Linked DNA regions of Homo sapiens: all the other regions are linked to region 1. Evidence: promoter capture Hi-C in 16 types of primary human blood cells and fetal thymus (Javierre and others, 2016). All regions are on one chromosome and are shown on one strand. The core of a region is centred on a gene start or on the middle of the fragment in contact, and the rest is flanking DNA. Distances in the headings are between cores, read along the strand shown. Region 1 holds the start of SNRPA1 (small nuclear ribonucleoprotein polypeptide A'). Region 2 has its middle 14 kb from the start of TARS3. Region 3 overlaps TARS3 (threonyl-tRNA synthetase 3). Region 4 overlaps TARS3 (threonyl-tRNA synthetase 3). Region 5 overlaps TARS3 (threonyl-tRNA synthetase 3). Region 6 overlaps LRRK1 (leucine rich repeat kinase 1). Region 7 has its middle 12 kb from the start of LINC02348.

Region 1 (2,908 bases), core at 214-2,713:
TAGGTGACAGAGTGAGACCCTGTCTAAAAAAAAAAAAAAAAAAAAAAAAAAAAAATCTAATCATCAACACCATTAAGAGTGAAAAGGCAAGCCACAGAGTGTGTTCATATCCCTAATATATAAAGAAATTCCACAAATCAATAAGAAAAAAGGCAGACAACTCCATAAGGAAAAAAAAAAAATGAGCCAGGGACTCGAAAGAACACTTAACCAAGGAAGCTATCAGAATGGGCACCATACACATGAGAAGGTTCTCAGCTTCATTAGTTATTAGAGAAAAGCAAAGCAAAGCAGTAGTGCAATACCACCACACACCCATCAGAATAGCTGAAGTTATAGAGTTAAAATGCCAAGAAGGCTGAAGCTGGAAGCCATGAAAACCCTTACACACCGCTGGAGTGTGTATATTATTTCAGCCTCTTAGCATAACTGTTGGGCATTACTTATTGATGATAGATATACCCTATGTCCCAGCAGTCCCACTCCAGGACAAACTCATGCAAACGTGCATCAGAACCACGTACCAGAAAATTCATAGTAGCATTACTCAGAATAGCCCTAACTGAAAACAACTTTGATGTCTATCAACAGCAGAATAAGTAATTTATGGTATAATATATACAATGGAATTCTCTTCAGCAGCAAAAGCAAACAAACCATCTCTGTATGCAACCTGGATGGACTCCAGACATAATATAGACTCCATGAAACTAGGCCAAAAAAAAAAGCATACTGCATGATTCTATTTATAGCAAAAGCAAGCAAACCGAATTTGTAGTGTTGAGTTCGCGGTTGCCTTTTGGGAAAGAGGGAGGCTTTCAGAATAGCGGTGTTTTGGATCCCGGTGTCGGCTACGCAGCTGTGTTCACTCTGGTCATTAATCACTGTAAATTCCTGATATGCACACTTTTATGTATATCACATTTCATACATATGAATATTCAGAAGTCTAAAGGTCACAAGCTTAACCGCAAACCCTACCGTGCCCGAGGCCGGGCTGGACTTGCGGGGCGGTGGGGTTGTCCCGGCGACCTGCCCCAGGCGGGCCACCTAGCCCGGGATCTCACACTGTAGCCCGGAGCCAAGGCCCAGGCCCGGGGCGGGCACCTGAACTGCTGGACCCTTCACTGAACCCCACGGGTTCCCGCGACGGCTGGTGGAGGGAGGACAGTCACCGCTTCCCCTCCCACCTCGAGGTGCGCTAATGCATGAGAAAGTTCCCCTCGGGTGTTTCCACATTCGCCTTAACTTTTAAACACCAACGTCTGGAATCAGGGGTCCTCCAGACTCCGAAACACACCCTAGGAAACAACCCAGAACGAGACACATCCCCTGTGCGCGCGCCACGACTTCCGGCAAGAACGCCCCCGGAGGCGTGGCTCTTCGATTGCTTCGGCCTGGCGGTCGAGCTGCGCGCGCACTCGGCGGCTGCGATTGGTGCTGCCTGGCGGCGGGGCGCGGGGCACGCTGGGACGTCTCGCTGGCGGGAGGCCACGGGCTTTCCACAGCGCGGGGGAACGGGAGGCTGCAGGATGGTCAAGCTGACGGCGGAGCTGATCGAGCAGGCGGCGCAGTACACCAACGCGGTGCGCGACCGGGAGCTGGACCTCCGGGGTGAGTCCGGGGGCGTGGGCGGCCAGTCCCCAGGCGGCACCGAGCCGCCTTATTTTCCGCGCTTTGCCGCGTGCACCGAAGGCCGGAGCTTGGCCCGCGGGCCGGTTGTCTGGGCTCCGACCGGGCTGCGCAGGGAACGCCGGGCCTGATTCTTGCCGTTGTTGCCAGATGAGCATCCGGTTAAGCTCCTGGGAGCCTTCTGTTAGCGCCGTGCCTCTTGACAGGCACGGGTGACTTCATTACTTCCTGGTGCGTCCTCGTGGGGCCCTGTTAGGCCTTGCTTGGCTGTTTCGCCGCTGGCTGTTTGAGGGCCCGGAAGAGCGGCTCATTAATGGTTGTAACGCAAGTGCAGGGCGCGGGATTGGTTCTTAATACTTGCCGCCAGATGATATTTTGAGCGTAGATAGGATATGTGTTCATTATTCCTAATGTGAGGGAGGAAACTAAGTCCCCGAACAACCGCGATTGTTTCCTCCAGTATTTTCTACTTAGTAGCTTTAATTGTCTGGCGTTTCCCCTATATGAAGACGTTTTAAAAATTGAACTGTGTCACCCAGGCTTGCACCGCCGGGTGCTGTGTGTAAGTTGTGGAAGCGCTCGCAATTATTCAGATTCCTGTACTATTTCAACCTTAGCAAGACTTGGTAAGATACTGGGAGGGCAGCTAGCTAGTTGGCATTTCAGGAGACGGCTTTAAAAGGGACGTGATAGAGCAACTTCTCTGAGGATAAGACCATGCTGTCGTAGCCTGAGATTTGTTCCCATGGGGACCTATGGCCTCGGAGCAGCATCGCTGCGGGATCTGCTTAGATTTCTTGCCGACCTTTGGGAAATCCCACTGTTTTGTGTTGTGTTGTGTTGAGATGGAGTCTCGCTCTTTCCGCCCCAGCTGGAGCGCAGTGGCGTGATCTCGGCTCACTGCAACCGCCGCCTCCCCGGTTCAGGTGATTCCTGTGTCTCAAGCCTCCCGAGTAGCTGGGAATACAGGCATGCGCCACCACGCCCGGCTAATTTTTTGTATTTTTAGTAAAGACATGGTTTCTCCATGTTGGTCAGGCTGGTCTCGAACTCCCGACCTCAGGTGATCCGCCCGCCTTGGTCTCCCGAAGTGCTGGGATTACAGGCTTGAGCCACTGCGCCCGGCCCAACTCACCACTTTTGATGATCTCTGCCATTTCTCTTTATGGAGCATGTGCAGTGTTGAGAATACGTATTTTGATGCAGTACGTGTAGTACAGCTCTGAATTGTGTCCTTTAACTTTGGGTAAGTTCTTTTTTTAGTAGACCTTGCTTC
Region 2 (2,908 bases), core at 117-2,616, 440 kb before region 1:
GAGACAGGGCCTTATTCTGTCACCCAGGCTGGAGTGCAGTAGCATGATCACAGCTCACTGTAGCCTCCACCTTCTGGGCTCAATCAATCCTCCTGCCTCAGCCTTCTAAGTAGCTGGGACTACAGGCATACAACCACCATGTCCAGCTAAATTTTGTATTTTTTGTAAAGATAGGGTTTCACCATGTTGGCCAGGCTGGTCTCAAACTCCTGACCTCAGGTGATCCACCTGCCTCCACCTCCCAAAGTGCTGGGATTACAGGCGTGAGACACCATGCCCAGCCTGCCCTTCCTTTTTAAACCTTTCCTGTGCATAGTGAAGAATACCATGACTAGTTTGGTGTTACTGCCTCTGTTTGTGCTAAAGTACCAGCATTTTTACCCACTATTGTATTTGCACCCTTAAAGCAAATGTCACCATGTTAGTGTTCCTGTTAAAATAGTTTGGACCTGGGCATCTGAGGGCCCCACTTTGGGAACCGTTGAAATAGGTAGTTAAACCTACTATATATCATATCTTTTCATCTACAAGATTTTTAAAAACATGATTTCAGTTCATTTATTTTTATAATTTTTAAAATATGGTTTTGAGGGGTTTCAGTCCAGAATAACAACACGTATTTTATTTTGCTTATGCTGAAGTTTACTAGACAAATACTAACCTAATAGAATGAGGTCCTAAATCTAGTTGCAGTTTCTTTAGCCAAAAAAAAAAAAAAAAAAAAACAACCCAAAACTAAACACATAAAAATGGTCCATAGGGTGTATTCCCAATGCATGTTGAAGAATTTGAAGAAGAAAATGCAATACTCAGTAAGTGGTGTTCTTCATGAATAGGATTAATTCTGAAGAGTTTCTTTTAGCCTGTAAAGAGATTTGGGACATAGTAAGAGAGGAATGAGAAGAATGAGAATAGTAAAATAAACCATTATTGAAGAGATATACTGTTAATGATGTCCTCCTTCCAGAAAACTTGTTTTTCTTTTTTCTTTTTTTTGGGGGGTGGACAGAGTCTTTCTCTGTCACCAGGCTGGAGTGCAGTGGTGCAATCTCAGGTCACTGCAACCTCTGCTTCCCTGGTTCAAGTGATTCCCCTGTGTCAGCCTCCTGAGTAGCTGGGACTACAGGCGCATGCCATCACGCCCCGCTAATTTTTTTTTTATTTTAGTAGAGACAGGGTTTCTTGATCAAGACAGGATGGTCTTGATCTCCTGACCTCGTGATCCACCCACCTCGGCCTCCCAGAATGCTGGGATTACAGGCATGAGCCATCACGCCCGGCCAACTTGTTTTTCTTAAAAGAACCTTTGGTAAATAATTGGTTTCTGTGGCTTCAGCTATAATTCAGATTACAGTTTTCAAAGCAGTGTTTCCTAAAGTTTGTGCGAAATTGTTTTCCATGACTTGAACCTAGTTGTTGTGAAGCTAATATATAATAATAATGGCTTCTCCCCAATTTATAATAGGAAACAGTAGAAAGTAACAGAGTAAATGTCTGTTAGTGGTAAAAGCACATAATGCTTAGTTCATTAGCTTTTTAAAAAAAATCACATGTAATTGTGTTCCAAAAATACATGTATAGCAATGGCATTTCTTGGTATTACTTGGTTTGTGTGATAGAATAAAATATTAGAATTTTATGGTGTTTGAATTAGTTATCTATTGCTCTGTAACAAATTTAGCAGCTTAAAACAACAAACATTATCTCACAGTTTCTGTGGGTCAGGATTCTGTGCAGTTTACCTTGGGTTCACTTGCTTGGCCTCTCACCAGGCAGTGAAGGTGTTGGTGGCGGCTATGATCATCCCAAGGCAGGATAGGGAGGGAATCCATCTCCAAGCTCACTCACGTATATGTTGGCAGGATTTATCTCACAGGCTGTTGTACTGGGCCTCTGTTTCTAGATGACTATTGGTCAGAGGGCTTTTACAATACCTTGTCACGTGGGCCTCTCCATAGGGCACCTCATCACATGGCAACTGGCTTCCATCAGAGGGAGCAATGGAAAGAGCAGGAGAAGGGTGACCAAGGCAGGCATCGTTTTGTCCTTGTAGCCTCATCTCAGAAGTGATGTTATTACTTCTGTTGCATTCTCTTTGTTAGAAGTGAGTCACTAGGTCCAGAGGTGGGAATTTTACAAGGGTGTGAATGCCAGGAGGTGAGGGTGATTGGGGCCATTTAGAGGCTGCCTACCAGTGCTGAAGAAAATTATTGACTTCTATGAGCTGTAGTAGCAGACAGTGCTATGCAAAGAGAATGGCTGCCTCAAAAGTCCAACTCCTCACATTGGTTTTAATGTGTTGCCTTTTCCCCCCCATACATTTTGTTTAAATCCATGTTAATCTTGCCATTTAGTGGTGTGGTTTAATTGCATATTTGGGTTAGTCTGTATGTAAATGTTTAACATAGGTGTCTCTGTGCTAAACAGGAATCCTCTTCATCTTTCTCACCAATATGTTTTGTGGACTCTGACGAGCCAAATCTGACATCAGTTCTGGAACATCTAGAAGATACTAAGAACAACCATTCAGTGAAGAGAGAAGCCAAGCTATTTTCTCTTTTCCTCATGAACATTATATTTAGAAATTAAATGTTAAGAGATAATATGATATAATGTTAAGAGATAATATGATATAAAAGCATGATTAATGACTATAATCTTAGAGGAATTAAAGTCTGGGTATTTTAAGTCCTTCAAATCTTATTTACTACCTGGTTTCTCTTTATTATTTCCCACATGTATAACCTTAGTTTAGATTAGGAATTCAAGATCTCCTTTTCCTGAATGCTAACCATTAAGCCAAGCAAGCATTTTGGGTAGAGATGACTAGCCAAGGTGGGAGGTAGAAAAAAGACCAAGGTGGAACTGAAGGGAGAGATGGGTAGAGTCACACCAGAACTAGTGCGAG
Region 3 (2,908 bases), core at 259-2,758, 430 kb before region 1:
AGTACTAGAGTTGGTTTTTTTTGTTTGGTTGGTTTTTTTTTGTTTTTTGAAGGCGGAGGTTTGCTCTTGTTGCCCAGGCTAGAGTGCAATGGCATGATCTCGGTTACTGCAGCCTCCACCTCCCAGGTTCAAGCGATTCTCCTGCCTCAGCCTCCTGAGTAGCTGGGACTACAGGTGCATGCCACCAAGCCCGGCTAATTTTTTTTTTTTTTTTTTTTTTTTTTTAGTAGAGATGGGGTTTCACCGTGTTAGCCAGGAGGATCTCGATCTCCTGACCTCATGATCCGCCCACCTTGGCTTCCCAAAGTGCTGGGATTACAGGCGTGAGCCACCGCCCCCGGTCTTTTTTTTTTTTTTGTATTCGAGAAACTAGCTACTTTGCTTTTGTATATAAAGCATTAAAACAATCAGTAAGTATTTATCTAGCATCAACATTTGGTAGGAGTGAAGAAGGAATACCTAGGCCCAAAGAAGTTAGTCTGGTTGAGGAATTCAGGCAGACTCAGGACAAACAACTAGAGAACAGAGTACGATGGTATACAAGTAAGTGCTGTAATGTGTGACTCTGTACACGTTCTGTAAACAGTAGAAAAGGGAGGTGTCATGGGGGCTGGGCGTGGGGCTGTCTCAAAGGAAAAAAAAAAAAAAAAGGGAGATGCCAGCGGGTAAAATAGGTAGAGGAGGCAGGCTTTGAGGTGGACCTTTAGAGCTAAGGAGAAGTTAGATAGGCAGAGAGGAGCCTTTTGGAGGTGGGAAGTACACATGCTCTTAGTCTTACAGTTGGGTTATGTCCCAATAAAACCAATGTGAGTTAAAAATGTATTTAATACACGTAAGCTAGTGATCATCGTAGTTTAGCCTAGCCTACATTAAAAGTGCTCAGAACACTTAGATTAGCTTACAGTTGGGCAAAATCCTCTAACATAAAGCCTATTTTATTATGAAGTGTTGAATATCTCATGTAATTTATTGAATACTGTACTGAGTGAAAAACACAATGGTTGTATGGATACTCAAAGTACAGTTTCTACTGAATGCATATGACTTTCACATCACTAAAGTTGAAAAATTGCGGCTGGATACGGTGACTCACGCCTGTAATCCCAGCATTTTGGGAGGCCAAGGCAGGTAAATCATTTGAGGTCAGGAGTTCGAGACCAGCCTGGCCAACATGGCGAAACCCCATCTCTACTACAAATACAAAAATTAGTCTGGCAGGGTGGTGCGTGCCTGTAATCCCAGCTACTCGGGTGGCCGAGGCAGGAAAATCGCTTGAACCTAGGAGACAGAGGCTGCAGTGAGCTGATTTCGTGCCCCTGCACTCCAGCCTGGGCGACAAAGCAAGACTCCATCTCAAAACAACAGCAACAACAACAACAAACCAAAAAACAACAACAACAACAAAATCGTAATTCAAACCATGGTAAGCTTGGGACCATCTGTAGAACTGAGAAGGCAGTAAGGGGGTGAGCCTGATTCAGAGCTGAGCAGCTGGAAAACAGTAGGCTGTATATATTAATCTCATTATGTTCTAATAATTTCCAGGTGAAGCATCAACCAATTTTCATAAAAGAAAGATTGAAGCTTTTTGAAATACTGAAGAAAGACCATCAGCTCTTACTTGCCATTTATGGAAAAAAGGGGGATACAAGCAACATCATCACAGTAAGAGTGGCTGATGGGCAAACAGTGCAAGGGGAAGTCTGGAAAACAACGCCTTACCAAGTGGCTGCTGAAATTAGGTAAACCGCAGTGTGGAAAAGATATTCAATCTTAAGTAATTATACTGAAGCCTGGTGAAAATGTTTTCTTAGGGACCGCTAATATATTACTCCATTCTCACGATACTAAAAGGACATGTCTGAGACTGGGTTATTTATAAAGGAAGAAGATTTAATTGACTCACAGTTCCGCAGGGCTGGGGAGGCTTCAGGAAACTTACAGTCGTGGCAGAAGGGGAAGCAAGCATGTCCTTCTTCACATGGCAGCGGCAAGGAGAAGTGCAGAGCAAAGTGGGGGGAAAACCCCTTATAAAACCATCAGATCTCATGAGAATGCACTCACTATCAAAGAACAGCATGGAGGTAACAGCCCCTGTGATTCAGTTACCTCCCACTGGGTCCCTTCCACAAAACGTGGGGATTATGGGAACTAGAGTTCAAGATGAGGTTTGGATGGGCACACAGCCAAACCATATCAGCTAATTTTTTTTTTATTCAGTTGAATAAATTAAATGTATTTAATTTTTTTCCTCTGGCTTCTCCAAGGGCCATGTAAATAAGTAGTTGAATATCAGAACACAATCATTTCCTGTTCTAATAAAAATATATAGGAGAGAAAAAAATCTGTAATTCTTGATAGGCCATTTTACACTGACTTTATTCGTCAATCAAGTAATTTCCATGAGTTTTTACAGGTCTTTTAAGTATAGATTGAAGATAAATGTTTTAGAGCTATTATCAGTCTTGGAAAAGTGCTTTGACTTTTCTAGAAATTAGATACATTAGTGAACTTATATTGTTTTGACTCATGTTAATTCTTAGCATTAAATACAATTGTATAGAAGCTATTGTATAAATACAATTATATAGCTTCTATACAATTGTATTAATGCCATGTAAATAAATGTTCATCATTTAAAAAGCAAACTGTTTCAACAACTGAAATTCTCAGATTTTCTTTGAAAACTATGGCTAAGATTGTATTTCTGATTCATCCTATTATATTGTTAAATGCTCTCCCAGCCTGTTTTCATGTTTTCCAGGAGGAATGATGTGCTAGGAGAAAACAGGTTTTGAGGCAAGAATAAGTTTGTTTTCTCATGGAGAGTCAGGTTGCATGTTAAATGTGTTGGGTCAGTATTTCTCAAAGTGTAGTCCCCAGACCAGCAGCATGGGCATCACCTGGA
Region 4 (2,908 bases), core at 286-2,785, 400 kb before region 1:
ATGATCATCATCACCTAAAGCCCACCTCCTGCAATGAACTTTTTTGGTCTTTCTACCGTGTTGTCTCCCCATGAGTGCCGTACTCCAAGTGTGCCAAGTAAGAAAATTCGCAGAGAATAGCAGAAGGTGAAGTAAAAGCTAAGTTCAAAGCTAATTAGGCATAAATATGATTGGAAATTTTACATATGCTGTTGCATGCATTTAGGTATAAGTGTTGAATGGCCTTGGAATGTCTATTACTAGAGAAGATGGAAATAACTGAGTATTATATGTGTGTGCAGTAAATATTAAGCAATAGCAGATGACATTTGAAATGCAATTTTTGTTTCAATCTAGGAACAAGAACTTTTCTTTTTCCACGATTTGAGTCCTGGAAGCTGTTTTTTCCTTCCCAGAGGAGCCTTCATTTATAATACGCTTACAGATTTCATACGAGTAAGTTAACTTTAAAATGTTTTATTCTTATTCAATTCCAGTTTACATTTTTACTATTTTCTCTCATAATAAAGTGGTCAAGCGTTTCCATTAACTTTACTTTGGTAACATTAATAAGAATTTTGAGGTTAAAAGTGAGATACTGGCCAGACACGGTGGCTCACACCTATAATCCCAGCACTTTGGGAGGCCAAGGTGGGCAGATCACCTGAGGTCAGGAGTTCGAGACCAGCCTGGCCAACATGGTGAAACCCTGTCTCTACTAAAAATACAAAAATTAGCCGAGTGTGGTGGTGCACACCTGTAATCCCAGCTACTTGGGAGGCTGGCAGGAGAATTGCTTGAACCCGGGAGGCAGAGTTTGCAGTGAGCCAGGATTGTGCCACTGCGCTCCAGCCTGGTGACAGAGCAAGACTCCATCTCAAAGAAAAAAAAAAAAAAAGTGAGGTACTAGATTGTACCTTCTAATAATAACATGGAGATAATTTCTGTTTCCCCTGAATACATTCCTGGATTTCATAAAATTCACTTTTTGTCCATATAAGTTTCTAAACCATGTAGAATATAAAGGTAAGCATTAGACTAAGTGTGGCACTCCCTGTGAAAAAGAAGAAAGGAGAAAGTGTCGTCTCTGGTACAGAGTGTTAAGCCATGAAGCATTGCTTCTCCAAATGTGCTCCATGGGCCACTGATGCTTCCCTTTGCCTATAGCATGACTCCCAGGTGATTTGGCAGTTCCAGAGGAAAGAGGAAAAAACCAACAGTGCAAAATACCTACTTGTATTACAAGTTCATAGGTGGGAAAGTCTTTAGTATTTACATGATAAGGACTGTGTAGATAGTGTTCACAGGTGATCCGGGTGGACTACTGGGATTACATTTCCATGCTTGCACTGTTTTGTCTTTCCTATAATCATTACCTAAATTTTTCATTTACTTAGTTTTTTTATGTGCCTACCACTAATTCATGCTCCAATTTCTCTCAAAAACTACAAATCTCCTTGCAACATATTCTGCAATGATTCAGGTAATTGCTCAGTAATTTTTTTTTTCAAATTTGGTCCTACTCCAGAATTAACTTGCTACTAAGATTCTTGCAAACTGATGGCTTAGGACTTCTTTTCATCATCATCTTGGCCACTCCCCTCATGTCTCTTCCTATGCTGAGTCTCTTTTCCTGGTCCCTGTATATCTCTTCGTTGCTTATCTTTAATTCTCATTTGGGGATCACTTTCTTCAGTAACTTTCTGAGAAGACAATCCATGGCATGTGGCCTGCACTGGTTATTCTCTGTTTGCTTCTCCAGTCTTGTTCTCCGTCTTTTTCTTCTTGTGCTGTGCCCCTGGAGGCTGACATGTCTGTATTCTATCACCTGGGGTACACATCTTCCAGTAGGGACTGGCCAATGCGAGGCAATGGTAGGAGATCAGAGGGCAGTGGAAGAGACTTGAAGAATCACTGAAGATTATCAGAGATTTACATTTAGGCAGGTGGTGATGACCATCACAGCTGCTGATTTGGATGTGCTGTCTTCTCTGGAAAATCAGCATGGCCCCTGGCACCTTGTACTCTCAAGTTGGGAGTACAATAGATGGAGAATGAACAGAAAGCCTTTACAGTGGCATTAAGGGGATCTCTTATTTTTTATAGATGCAAGACAGATGTGGCTGATGAACAGGAGCAGGGCCTGATTGTGAGGGTCACCAAACTGTAAAGGCACTTAAATGCACAAACCCAGTGATCTCTTATTCTAAGGTAAGGGCACTGGTTGGGAAGGGTCCCTGAGGCTTGGAATGGGAATATTTGACAGACACAGGCGACACTGAGAACTTTGCATTTCTGGATACCTTTGTCTGAAGGAATTGGCCTTACCATGAAAAAAACCTTTTGGAGAACTCAGCTGTTTTTTCTGTTGGTTTTTTGTTATTATGGTTGTGTCACTTCCCATATCAAGTAATATTTTGTTAGATGCCAAGTATTACATGTAATTTAGGTGTAGAGGCTCTAGATGATATCTCCCACTGGAGCATTCACCCTCTGCCACTATTAAGGACTGATCATTGAATTCGATCAGAGATTGCACTGGGTTAGGGCCGGCTTCCACTTTAATAAGATTCAACTTTTGATTCCTGTTTCTAGGTCATGACCCCCTTGGGTTTCCACTTGACAGGCTGGTGGGTTTATGTCTTTTCAGCCCCAAAGGACTGTAGGGAAGTCCATTCTACTCTTCCAAAGTGTTCTATTCTTAACAAATAATTCCAAGGCTCATCTAATTACTACATTGGCTCAAAAATCCAGGACATCTTCTGAATCAGGCCTAGCTGCAGATGAGGCTCCTCGGGTGCAGTTTGTTGGGAACAGATTATCAAGTACATTTCCTCTACAGTTTAAGACCTGTGAACTAAAAACTCAAGTTATCTATCAGCCACCTCATCCTCTCATCTCCCTCACATTGTAAAATGGTGCTTGAGGA
Region 5 (2,908 bases), core at 301-2,800, 380 kb before region 1:
AAAGTACTCAAAGAAATAATAGCTGACAACTTGCCAAATTTGGCAAAAGACATCTACAGATTCAAGAAAGCTGTTCAGGATAAACTCCAAGAAACCTACACCAAGATATATCATAGTAAACTGAAAACTAAAGACAAAGGAAAGGCTTGAAAGCAATGAGAGAGAAATTATGCATTACCTTTAAAGAGAAAAACAATTTGAATGATAGCAATTTCTCATTAAAAAACAAAAAACAAAAATCCTGGAGGCCAGAAGGAAGTGGCACAATACTTTTAAAGTGCTGAAAAAAGAAAAAGGAATTTTCAACCCAGAATTCTATGTCTAAAGAAAATACCCTTCAGCAATTGAGGGGAAATCAAGACATTGGACCCACCAAAAGAATGGCTGTAGGAAGTTTTCTAAACAGAAAGGAAATGATGAAAAGAGGAATCAGGGAACTTTAGGAAGAAAAAGATTGTGAAAATAAAAACAGGTAAATACAATATATTTTCCTTCTCCTTTTGCGTTTTCTAAATTATGTTTGATCATTGAAGTAAAAATCACATGTTCTTTCTGATGTTCTAAATGTATGTAGAAGAAATGTTTAAGAAAATTATACTATAAATGGGGTAAGGTATAGGGAATAAAAGTTTTTGTACTTCACCTGAGCTGGTAAAGTGACAATATCTGGACTGATAAGTTATATAATACCTAGAGAAACCAATAAAAAAAAAAGCTATAGACAGGGATACACTAAGAGAACCTATAGATAAATTGGAATTGAATTCCAGAAAAATGTTAAAGTAATCCATAGGAAGACAGGAAAAATAAAACAGAAATGAATAACAAGAGAGAACAAGAAGGAAACAAAAAGGCAGTGTAAAGCCCTAACATATTAAGTGTAAATGGTCTAAATAAACCAATTAAAAGAGATTGACATAGTAGATTAAAAAATATGACCCAGGCTGGGTGAGGTGGCTCATGCCTGTAATTCCAGCACTTTGGGAGGCTGAGGCAGGCAGATCATGAGGTCAGGAGTTCAAGACCAGCCTGACCAACATGGTGAAACCCCATCTCTACTAAAAATACATAAATTAGCTGGGTGTGGTGGCACACACCTGTAATCCCAGCTATCAGGATGCTGAGGCAAGAGAATCGCTTGAACTTGGGAGGCAGAGGTTGCAGTGAGCCGAGATCATGCCACTGCACTCCAGCCTGGGTGACAGTGATACTCCATCTCAAAAAAAAAAAAAAAATGACCCCCAAAAAAAAAGAAGTCCCATGATATGCCAATTAAAAGCTGGAGAAAGGCCAGGCATGGTAGCACACACCTGTAGTCCCAGCACTTTGGGAGGCTGAGGTGGGTGGATCACCTGAGGTTGGGAGTTCGAGACCAGACTGACTAACATGGAGAAACCCTGTCTCTACTAAAAATACAAAATTAGCCAGGCTTGGTGGCACGTGCCTGTAATCCCAGCACTTTGGGAGGCTGAGGTGGGTGGATCACCTGAGGTTGGGAGTTCGAGACTAGACTGACTAACATGGAGAAACCCTGTCTCTACTAAAAATACAAAATTAGCCAGGCGTGGTGGCATGTGCCTGTAATCCCAGCTACTCAGGAGGCTGAGACAGGAGAATTGCTTGAACCCGGGAGGTGGAGGTTGTGGTGAGCTGAGACTGTGCCATTGCACTGCAGCCTGGGCAACAAGAGCAAAACTCCGTCTCAAAAAAAAAAAAAAGCTGGAGAACTAGGAAAGCTGATGGTATAACTCCCAGTCTAAGGCCAAAAGCCTCAGTGGGGTGAGCAAAGGAGGGAGCTGGTGTAAGTCCCAGAGTTGGTGGGCCTGAGAACCAGGAGCTCCAGTGTCTGAGAACAGGAGAAAATAAATGTCCCAACTCAAAAAGAGAGAGAATTTGCCTTTCCTCTGCCTTTGAGTTCTATTCCTGCCCTCAACAGATTGGATGAGGCCCACCCACATTGGTGAGGGTGGAAGTTGTTTACCAATTCCACTGATTCAGATGCTCATCTCTTCGAGAAACGCACTCACAGGCATTCCCAGAAATAAATGTTGTAAGGGTGGCCAGCTGTCTGGCATCTTTTAGCTCAGTCGAGTTAACACTTAAAAGTAGCCATCACAAGCCATTATCCTCAGCAAACTAACACAGGAATAGAAAACCAAACTCCATATGTTCTCACTTATAAGTGGGAACTGAACAATGAGAACAGATGGACACAGGGAGGGGAACAACACACACTGGGGCCTGTCGGAGGGAAGAGGAGGGAGGGAGAGCATCAGGATAAATAGCTAATGCATTCTGGGCTTAAATACTTAGGTGACGGGTTCATAGGTGGAGCAAACCACCATGGCACACATATACCTATGTAACAAACTACACATCCTGCACGTGCACCCAGGAACTTAAAAAAAAAAAAAAAAGGGTGTAGTGGCTCATGCCTATAATCCCAGCACTTTGGGAGGCTGAGGCAGGTGGGTCACTTGAGGCCAGGAGTTCGAGACCAGCCTGGCCAACATGGCGAAACCCCTTCTCTACTAAAAAAAAAAAAATACAAAAATTAGCCGAGCATGGTGGCGAGCACCTGTAGTTCCAGCTACTCGGGAGCCTGAGGCATGAGAACCGCTTGAACCCGAGAGGCAGAGGTTGCAGTGAGCCAAGACCACACCACTGCATTCCAGCCTGGGTGACAGAGCAAGACTGTCTCAAAAAACAAAACAAAACAAAAAACTAGCCATTGCAGTTAATGAATGAAAGACTTGATGTCTCAAATCCATCAAATTCCCTGCATTTCAGCTGCCTCTCTCTGGTTTAAGCCACTGTCATCTTGCTCCTAATTGACTCAGCCAGCTTCCTGATGGGGCTCTCTTCTAATCTTGCCAGTTCATTCCACATACTGTGAAAGAACACATTG
Region 6 (2,908 bases), core at 139-2,638, 370 kb after region 1:
AAATATTTGCATGGGTTCATTTAGTTTTCCCTCTGCAACATTCCTTTTTGTAGTCCATCTATCCAGCCAAACCCATCAGGTGTGGTCAGTGGGAAGGCACAGCTCCCCCCATCCCATCTTGATGCGGGGCTCAGGTATTGTCTACCTGAGAAGAGTCTCAAACAAACCCCAGACAATTGGAAAACACATACTGGTAACAGCTTCAATCATTGTTCAGTCAACGCACACCTACTGTCACATGCAAGGTAGCCAGGCTCTGTGTGAGGCTCAGTGGCACCAAGATGGCTCAAGGAGGCTCTTGCCCTCAGGGGCACACTCCAGTGGGGGTAGGGCAGACATAGTTAAGGTTAGTCACGATACAAGGCTCTCCTTTTGCCCGGGGCCAGTTCTTCTGGAAGCCAGAGGTGAGCACGTCATCCCAAGGGGGTGGTCAGGCAACAGTTCCAAAGACATGGAATTATTACTGGTTATGAAGTCAAGTTAGCATGAGCTTTAGCAGAAAGCTAAATGACGGAGGTTAGCAGACATGAGCCTCAAAAATTCTGCCCCTTTCCCAGGGGACATTTGGCAATGTCTGGAGACATTTTTGGTTGCCACAACTTGGCTGGGGGAGAGTGCTACAGGCCTCTAATGGGTAGAGGTCAATGATGCTGCTAAACATCCTACAATGTACAGGACTGCTATTTGCAACAAAGAATTATCTGGCCCCAAAAGTTCCAGGGTGGAGTTAGACTAATCTCTGAAACTAATGACTATGATAAACTGAGACCAAGTGCTGCTCTTCTATGCTGGGCCCCCACTGAGCTTAGAGTCCCCCCATGGGCATAAGTGCCCATCCTGGTATGGTGATTGAAGGACCAGAGGGAGGGTAAGACCCATGCCTAGCTCAGGCCTGACATGAGGTACTACCATAAGTAATGCATGTGCGCCTATCCTTGTTCTTATAGCATATCCTACATGTGATGAAGTACGAGGTAATTAGCACCTCTTGTCTGTGTTCTCTCAGATAGACAACTCTGAAATGGGGAGTGATAGTGCAGCCAAAAATATATTTTTTAAATCAAGGTTATATAAAAATAATGCCTAAGAGAATCTGTACAGGCAAAAGCATAGCGTGGACGTTAAAGGTGTGGACTGCCTGTGTCACATGTTCGCAGTGTGACTCCCAGCTGAAAGGTATGTGTGTCTCAGTTTTCACCTGTTAAAAATAGACATCCACCCTTATGCCCGGGCCTGCTAGTGGGGTTACTGTGTGAATTCAACCAAAGTGAAGTTTCTGCAGCCTCTCTCTACGACAGGGCTGGGGTGGTCATTACCTGTAGTACCAGCGCACAGACTTGGAGGCCAGCGGGTCTCCCACTTCCCTGCTAATTAATAAGATCAGAATATCAATGCTGGAGGGCAGATGCCAGCCTCACCAGCGGGTAGGTTCTAGAAGATGCCGTGAGCAGTAGGGGCACGAAGTAAGGTACAGGACAAGGCTGTGGGAATTTCTCACCTAAAAGCCTAGAACTCAGGCACCTGGCCCAGGTGGACTGGACTCGTCAAGGCAGGGAAAGGTGGAGCTAGAAAAGCCAGGCTCCAGCAGCCTTGTGCAAGCTGCACATGTTTCAGAGGCAAAAGGGATGGTCGACACAAACCACGTGTGGGAAACACCTGTGTTTGAAGTTGGGAAGCCTGAAAAGTCGAAGGAGGAAAGGAAAAACGATCAATCTGGGCAAAATTTAGGGGATGATGAAAGCCTTATAAATAGCAAAACCTGATTTGGAAAATCAACTTGTGACAGAGAGAGGAAGAGCCAGCAAGACAGAATCTGTTTTAAAATAAACGTTCCGATCACACATTCACATCCAGAAACTGAGAAGCACAGTTGCCATCTGCTTTCAGACACCTCTCCAAAACAGCTACCGCACATAACCAACAGCATTTCAAAAATCCAAACGCTAGACATTCTTCCTGAAAACAGAAGTGTCTTACCATACAATGTTTTTAAGTTCTAAAAAAAAAAAAATCTTAAAATTATTTCAGGCTAACCCTCACCCAGCACATTTTGTTCCCCTTTTCATTTTCAGTTTCCTTTTGAAAATCACTTTACCAGTGGAAGACTCTGCCCCTGGAGCAGTTTTAAAATTCTAGTTACTATTTTGGCTTATATTCTAAGGTAGAAGTTTTAAGATGAGGTAATTCAAATTTTGCTCAATCTTTGCCCTCAAACGGATCTTTGCTTCCTCCTGCTTCTTTTGGGTCCAGAGAGGTGCCAACAAGTGATGATTACAAGTTACATGTCTTCATTATACACCCTAAAGAGGGCATCAAGAGGTTTTCAGCAGTAATGATGGTTTAAATGATTTTTCAAAACCTCATCAATTTCCTTTTGCCAACTATTTATACCTGCATTAATGAATAAACCTAAACATTTAATGGAAAAGAAAATAGATGGGTGCGGTGGTTCACGCTTGTAATCCCAGCTCTTTGGGAGGCCGAGGAGAGTGGATCACTTGAGGTCAGGAGTTCGAGATCACCCTGGCCAATATGGTAAAAACCCATCTCTACTAAAATTACAAAAATTAGCTGGGCATGCTGGTGGGCGCCTGTAATCCCAGCTACTTGGGAGGCCGAGGCATGAGAATCACTTAAACTGGGGGAGGTGGAGGTTGCAGTGAGCCAAGATTGCACCACTGCACTCCAACCTGGGTGACAGAGCAAGACTCTAGAGAAAAGAAAAGAGAAGAACCTGTCATTCATTCTACAAATGTCTTATTGAGTTCTTTCTATGAAGAGGGAACTTCATGAGTTTGTGAAGCTGGTGGGGGAGCAGACAGCTAAGTAATTGCTATAAAGCTTCTGACAGCAGAGAAGCCCAGATATTTTAGGAGGCTTGGGAAGGACTGTCGATATCAGTTAGAAG
Region 7 (2,908 bases), core at 283-2,782, 330 kb before region 1:
AGAGATCCGCTGTTAGTCTGATGGGCTTCCCTTTGAGGGTAACCCGACCTTTCTCTCTGGCTGCCCTTAACATTTTTTCCTTCATTTCAACTTTGGTGAATCTGACAGTTATGTGTCTTGGAGTTGCTCTTCTCGAGGAGTATCTTTGTGGCGTTCTCTGTATTTCCTGAATCTGAACGTTGGCCTGCCTTGCTAGATTGGGGAAGTTCTCCTGGATAATATCCTGCAGAGTGTTTTCCAACTTGGTTCCATTCTCCCCATCACTTTCAGGTACACCAATCAGACGTAGATTTGGTCTTTTCACATAGTCCCATATTTCTTGGAGGCTTTGCTCATTTGTTTTTATTCTTTTTTCTCTAAACTTCCCTTCTCACTTCATTTCATTCATTTCATCTTCCATCGCTGATACCCTTTCTTCCAGTTGATCGCATCGGCTCCTGAGGCTTCTGCATTCTTCACGTAGTTCTCGAGCCTTGGTTTTCAGCTCCATCAGCTCCTTTAAGCACTTCTCTGTATTGGTTATTCTAGTTATACATTCTTCTAAATTTTTTCCAAAGTTTTTCAACTTCTTTGCCTTTGGTTTGAATGTCCTCCCGTAGCTCAGAGTAATTTGATTGTCTGAAGCCTTCTTCTCTCAGCTCGTCAAAGTCATTCTCCATCCAGCTTTGTTCCGTTGCTGGTGAGGAACTGCGTTCCTTTGGAGGAGGAGAGGCGCTCTGCTTTCTAGAGTTTCCAGTTTTTCTGTTCTGTTTTTTCCCCATCTTTGTGGTTTTATCTACTTTTGGTCTTTGATGATGGTGATGTACAGATGGGTTTTCGGTGTGGATGTCCTTTCTGTTTGTTAGTTTTCCTTCTAACAGACAGGACCCTCAGCTGCAGGTCTGTTGGAGTACTGGGCCCTGTGAGGTGTCAGTCTGCCCCTGCTGGGGGGTGCCTCCCTGTTAGGCTGCTCAGGGGTCAGGGGTCAGGGACCCACTTGAGGAGGCAGTCTGCCGGTTCCCATATCTCCAGCTGTGTACTGGGAGAACCACTGCTCTCTTCAAAGCTGTCAGACAGGGACATTTAAGTCTGCAGAGGTTACTGCTGTCTTTTTGTTTGGCTGTGCCCTGCCCCCATAGGTGGAGCCTACAGAGGCAGGCAGGCCTCCTGGAGCTGTGGTGGGCTCCACCCAGTTCGAGCTTTAGGCTGCTTTGTTTACCTAAGGAAGCCTGGGCAATGGCGGGCGCCCCTCCCCCAGCCTCGCTGCCGCCTTGCAGTTTGATCTCAGACTGCTGTGCTAGCAATCAGTGTGACTCCGTGGGGTAGGACCCTCCGAGCCAGGTGCGGGATATAATCTCGTGGTGCGCCGTTTTTTAAGCGGGTCTGAAAAGCGCAATATTCGGGTGGGAGTGACCCGATTTTCCAGGTGCCGTCCGTCACCCCTTTCTTTGACTCGGAAAGGGAACTCCCTGACCCCTTGCTCTTCCCAAGTGAGGCAATGCCTCGCCCTGCTTCGGCTCGCGCACGGTGCACGCACCCACTGACCTGCGCCCACTGTCTGGCACTCCCTAGTGAGATGAACCCGGTACCTCAGATGGAAATGCAGAAATCACCCATCTTCTGCGTCGCTCACGCTGGGAGCTGTAGACCAGAGCTGTTCCTATTCGGACATCTTGGCTCCTCCCGTGGTAAGTTTTCTTTTCCTTTGTTTAGAGTTTCTATTTTTTCTTTTTTTTTTTCTCCCACAGTGTTACTATTTACTTTTTGGAGCATTTTTATGCTGGTTCCTTAAAACCCTTGTCAGACAATTATAGTATCTGTATTATCTTGGTGTTGCTGTCTGTTGTTTGCCTTTTTGCATTCAAATTGAGATGTCCTTGGTCATAGTGTGATGAGTAATTGTGGATTGTAACTAGGACATTCTGAGTGTTGTGTCATGAAGTTCTGGTTTCTATTTAAATCTTCTTTCAGCAGGCAGTCAACCTGTTTAGCTTCAGGATGCATGTTCCGGTACACTTTCATAGGCTGAGATTCAAATGCCAATTTAGTTTGCTACCCTGGTCTTCCCAGCTTATGTGCTGCCCAGAGGCCAATGTGAAATGATAGCAGTGTTTGACACTGCAGCTCAGTTCTCCAATCTTCTAATGTGTTGATTCTTATTAGGCATAGGCTGCTTGGGGGTCTGCCCAGGAATTAATACACAGGTTCTCTCCTCCGTAATCCTACCTACCCTGCTCTAATTGGGAGGGGAGGAGGTGCTGCCTCTTTGCTGCTGTTTGCTTCGTGCACGGTGGGGATGGTCACAGTCTATGCACCAGTGGAGTGGGAGAGAAGCATCACCTCTTTGCTGACATTTGCTTAGTGCAGCAGAGGGATGGTAGAAAGGATTCACTCTACAGTCTCCACAGTGATAGGTATTGGGGGAGGGGTGCCACTTCTACCCATGTTAGTGTAGGATCAGAATAGTTGAAAGGGCTTCACCCTGAAGTTTGCTCTGAGTCCTGGTGTAGAGGAGGAAGGGTTCTTTCTCCTTAATGCAAGACAGAAATGGCCAAACAGGTCTCCACTACAGTCTCTGATATGGTTTGTCTGTGTCCACACCCAAATCTCATCTTGAATTGTAGCTCCCATAATCTCCACATGTCATGGGAGGGACCCAGTGGGAGGTAATGGAATCATAAGGGCGGTTACCCTATGCTGCTGTTCTCATGACAGTGAGTGAGCTCTCATGAGATCTGATGGTTTTGTAAGGGGCTTTTCCCCTTTTTGCTTGGCACTTCTCCTTGATGCCACCATGTGAAGAAGGACATGTGTGCTTCCCCTTTTGCCATGACTGTAATTTCCTGAGGCCTCCTCAGCCATGCTAAGCTGTGAGTCAGTTAAACCTCTTTCCTTTATAAACTACCCAGTCACAGGGATGTCTTTATTA

The links. The method cuts DNA at HindIII sites, captures the fragments that hold promoters and counts their contacts. A CHiCAGO score of 5 or more calls a contact.
Region 2: a fragment that was not itself captured here is called in contact with the fragment with the promoter of SNRPA1 in region 1 in 3 of 17 cell types (endothelial precursors, naive CD4 T cells and fetal thymus); the score reaches 6.8 in endothelial precursors.
Region 3: a fragment that was not itself captured here is called in contact with the fragment with the promoter of SNRPA1 in region 1 in 17 of 17 cell types (fetal thymus, total B cells, total CD8 T cells and 14 more); the score reaches 23.9 in fetal thymus.
Region 4: a fragment that was not itself captured here is called in contact with the fragment with the promoter of SNRPA1 in region 1 in 13 of 17 cell types (fetal thymus, megakaryocytes, naive B cells and 10 more); the score reaches 9.0 in fetal thymus.
Region 5: a fragment that was not itself captured here is called in contact with the fragment with the promoter of SNRPA1 in region 1 in 13 of 17 cell types (megakaryocytes, M1 macrophages, erythroblasts and 10 more); the score reaches 10.3 in megakaryocytes.
Region 6: a fragment that was not itself captured here is called in contact with the fragment with the promoter of SNRPA1 in region 1 in 2 of 17 cell types (total B cells and M1 macrophages); the score reaches 7.0 in total B cells.
Region 7: a contact is called between a fragment that was not itself captured here and the fragment with the promoter of SNRPA1 in region 1, in 14 of 17 cell types (megakaryocytes, M1 macrophages, erythroblasts and 11 more). The highest score is 14.5, in megakaryocytes.

The regions. Positions count from the first base shown.
Region 1 is chr15:101,293,803-101,296,710 of GRCh38, reverse strand. SNRPA1 (small nuclear ribonucleoprotein polypeptide A') reads left to right here and starts at 1,463. Exons shown (of 9, transcript NM_003090.4): 1 at 1,463-1,614. The coding sequence starts at 1,533. SNRPA1-DT (SNRPA1 divergent transcript) reads right to left here and starts at 1,363. Exons shown (of 2, transcript NR_186319.1): 1 at 982-1,363. RefSeq lists enhancers at 1,115-1,204, 1,265-1,314, 1,878-2,509 and a silencer at 1,545-1,734. The HindIII fragment of the contact is 2,362 bases long and covers 966-2,908 here.
Region 2 is chr15:101,736,889-101,739,796 of GRCh38, reverse strand. It overlaps the pseudogene UBE2Q2P13. Among named protein-coding and RNA genes, the nearest start is that of TARS3, 14 kb to the right of the region's middle. The HindIII fragment of the contact is 3,409 bases long and covers 1-2,908 here.
Region 3 is chr15:101,719,960-101,722,867 of GRCh38, reverse strand. It overlaps TARS3 (threonyl-tRNA synthetase 3), which reads left to right. Exons shown (of 19, transcript NM_152334.3): 3 at 1,546-1,742. Among named protein-coding and RNA genes, the nearest start is that of TARS3, 3.1 kb to the left of the region's middle. The HindIII fragment of the contact is 156 bases long and covers 1,431-1,586 here.
Region 4 is chr15:101,698,613-101,701,520 of GRCh38, reverse strand. It overlaps TARS3 (threonyl-tRNA synthetase 3), which reads left to right. Exons shown (of 19, transcript NM_152334.3): 10 at 337-435. Among named protein-coding and RNA genes, the nearest start is that of TARS3, 24 kb to the left of the region's middle. The HindIII fragment of the contact is 5,634 bases long and covers 1-2,908 here.
Region 5 is chr15:101,676,312-101,679,219 of GRCh38, reverse strand. All of the region lies in intron 12 of TARS3 (threonyl-tRNA synthetase 3), which reads left to right. Among named protein-coding and RNA genes, the nearest start is that of TM2D3, 25 kb to the right of the region's middle. RefSeq lists an enhancer at 2,626-2,908. The HindIII fragment of the contact is 5,094 bases long and covers 1-2,908 here.
Region 6 is chr15:100,921,544-100,924,451 of GRCh38, reverse strand. All of the region lies in intron 1 of LRRK1 (leucine rich repeat kinase 1), which reads right to left. Among named protein-coding and RNA genes, the nearest start is that of LRRK1, 3.6 kb to the right of the region's middle. RefSeq lists an enhancer at 1-293. The HindIII fragment of the contact is 2,910 bases long and covers 1-2,843 here.
Region 7 is chr15:101,625,207-101,628,114 of GRCh38, reverse strand. No RefSeq gene overlaps it. Among named protein-coding and RNA genes, the nearest start is that of LINC02348, 12 kb to the right of the region's middle. The HindIII fragment of the contact is 3,259 bases long and covers 1-2,908 here.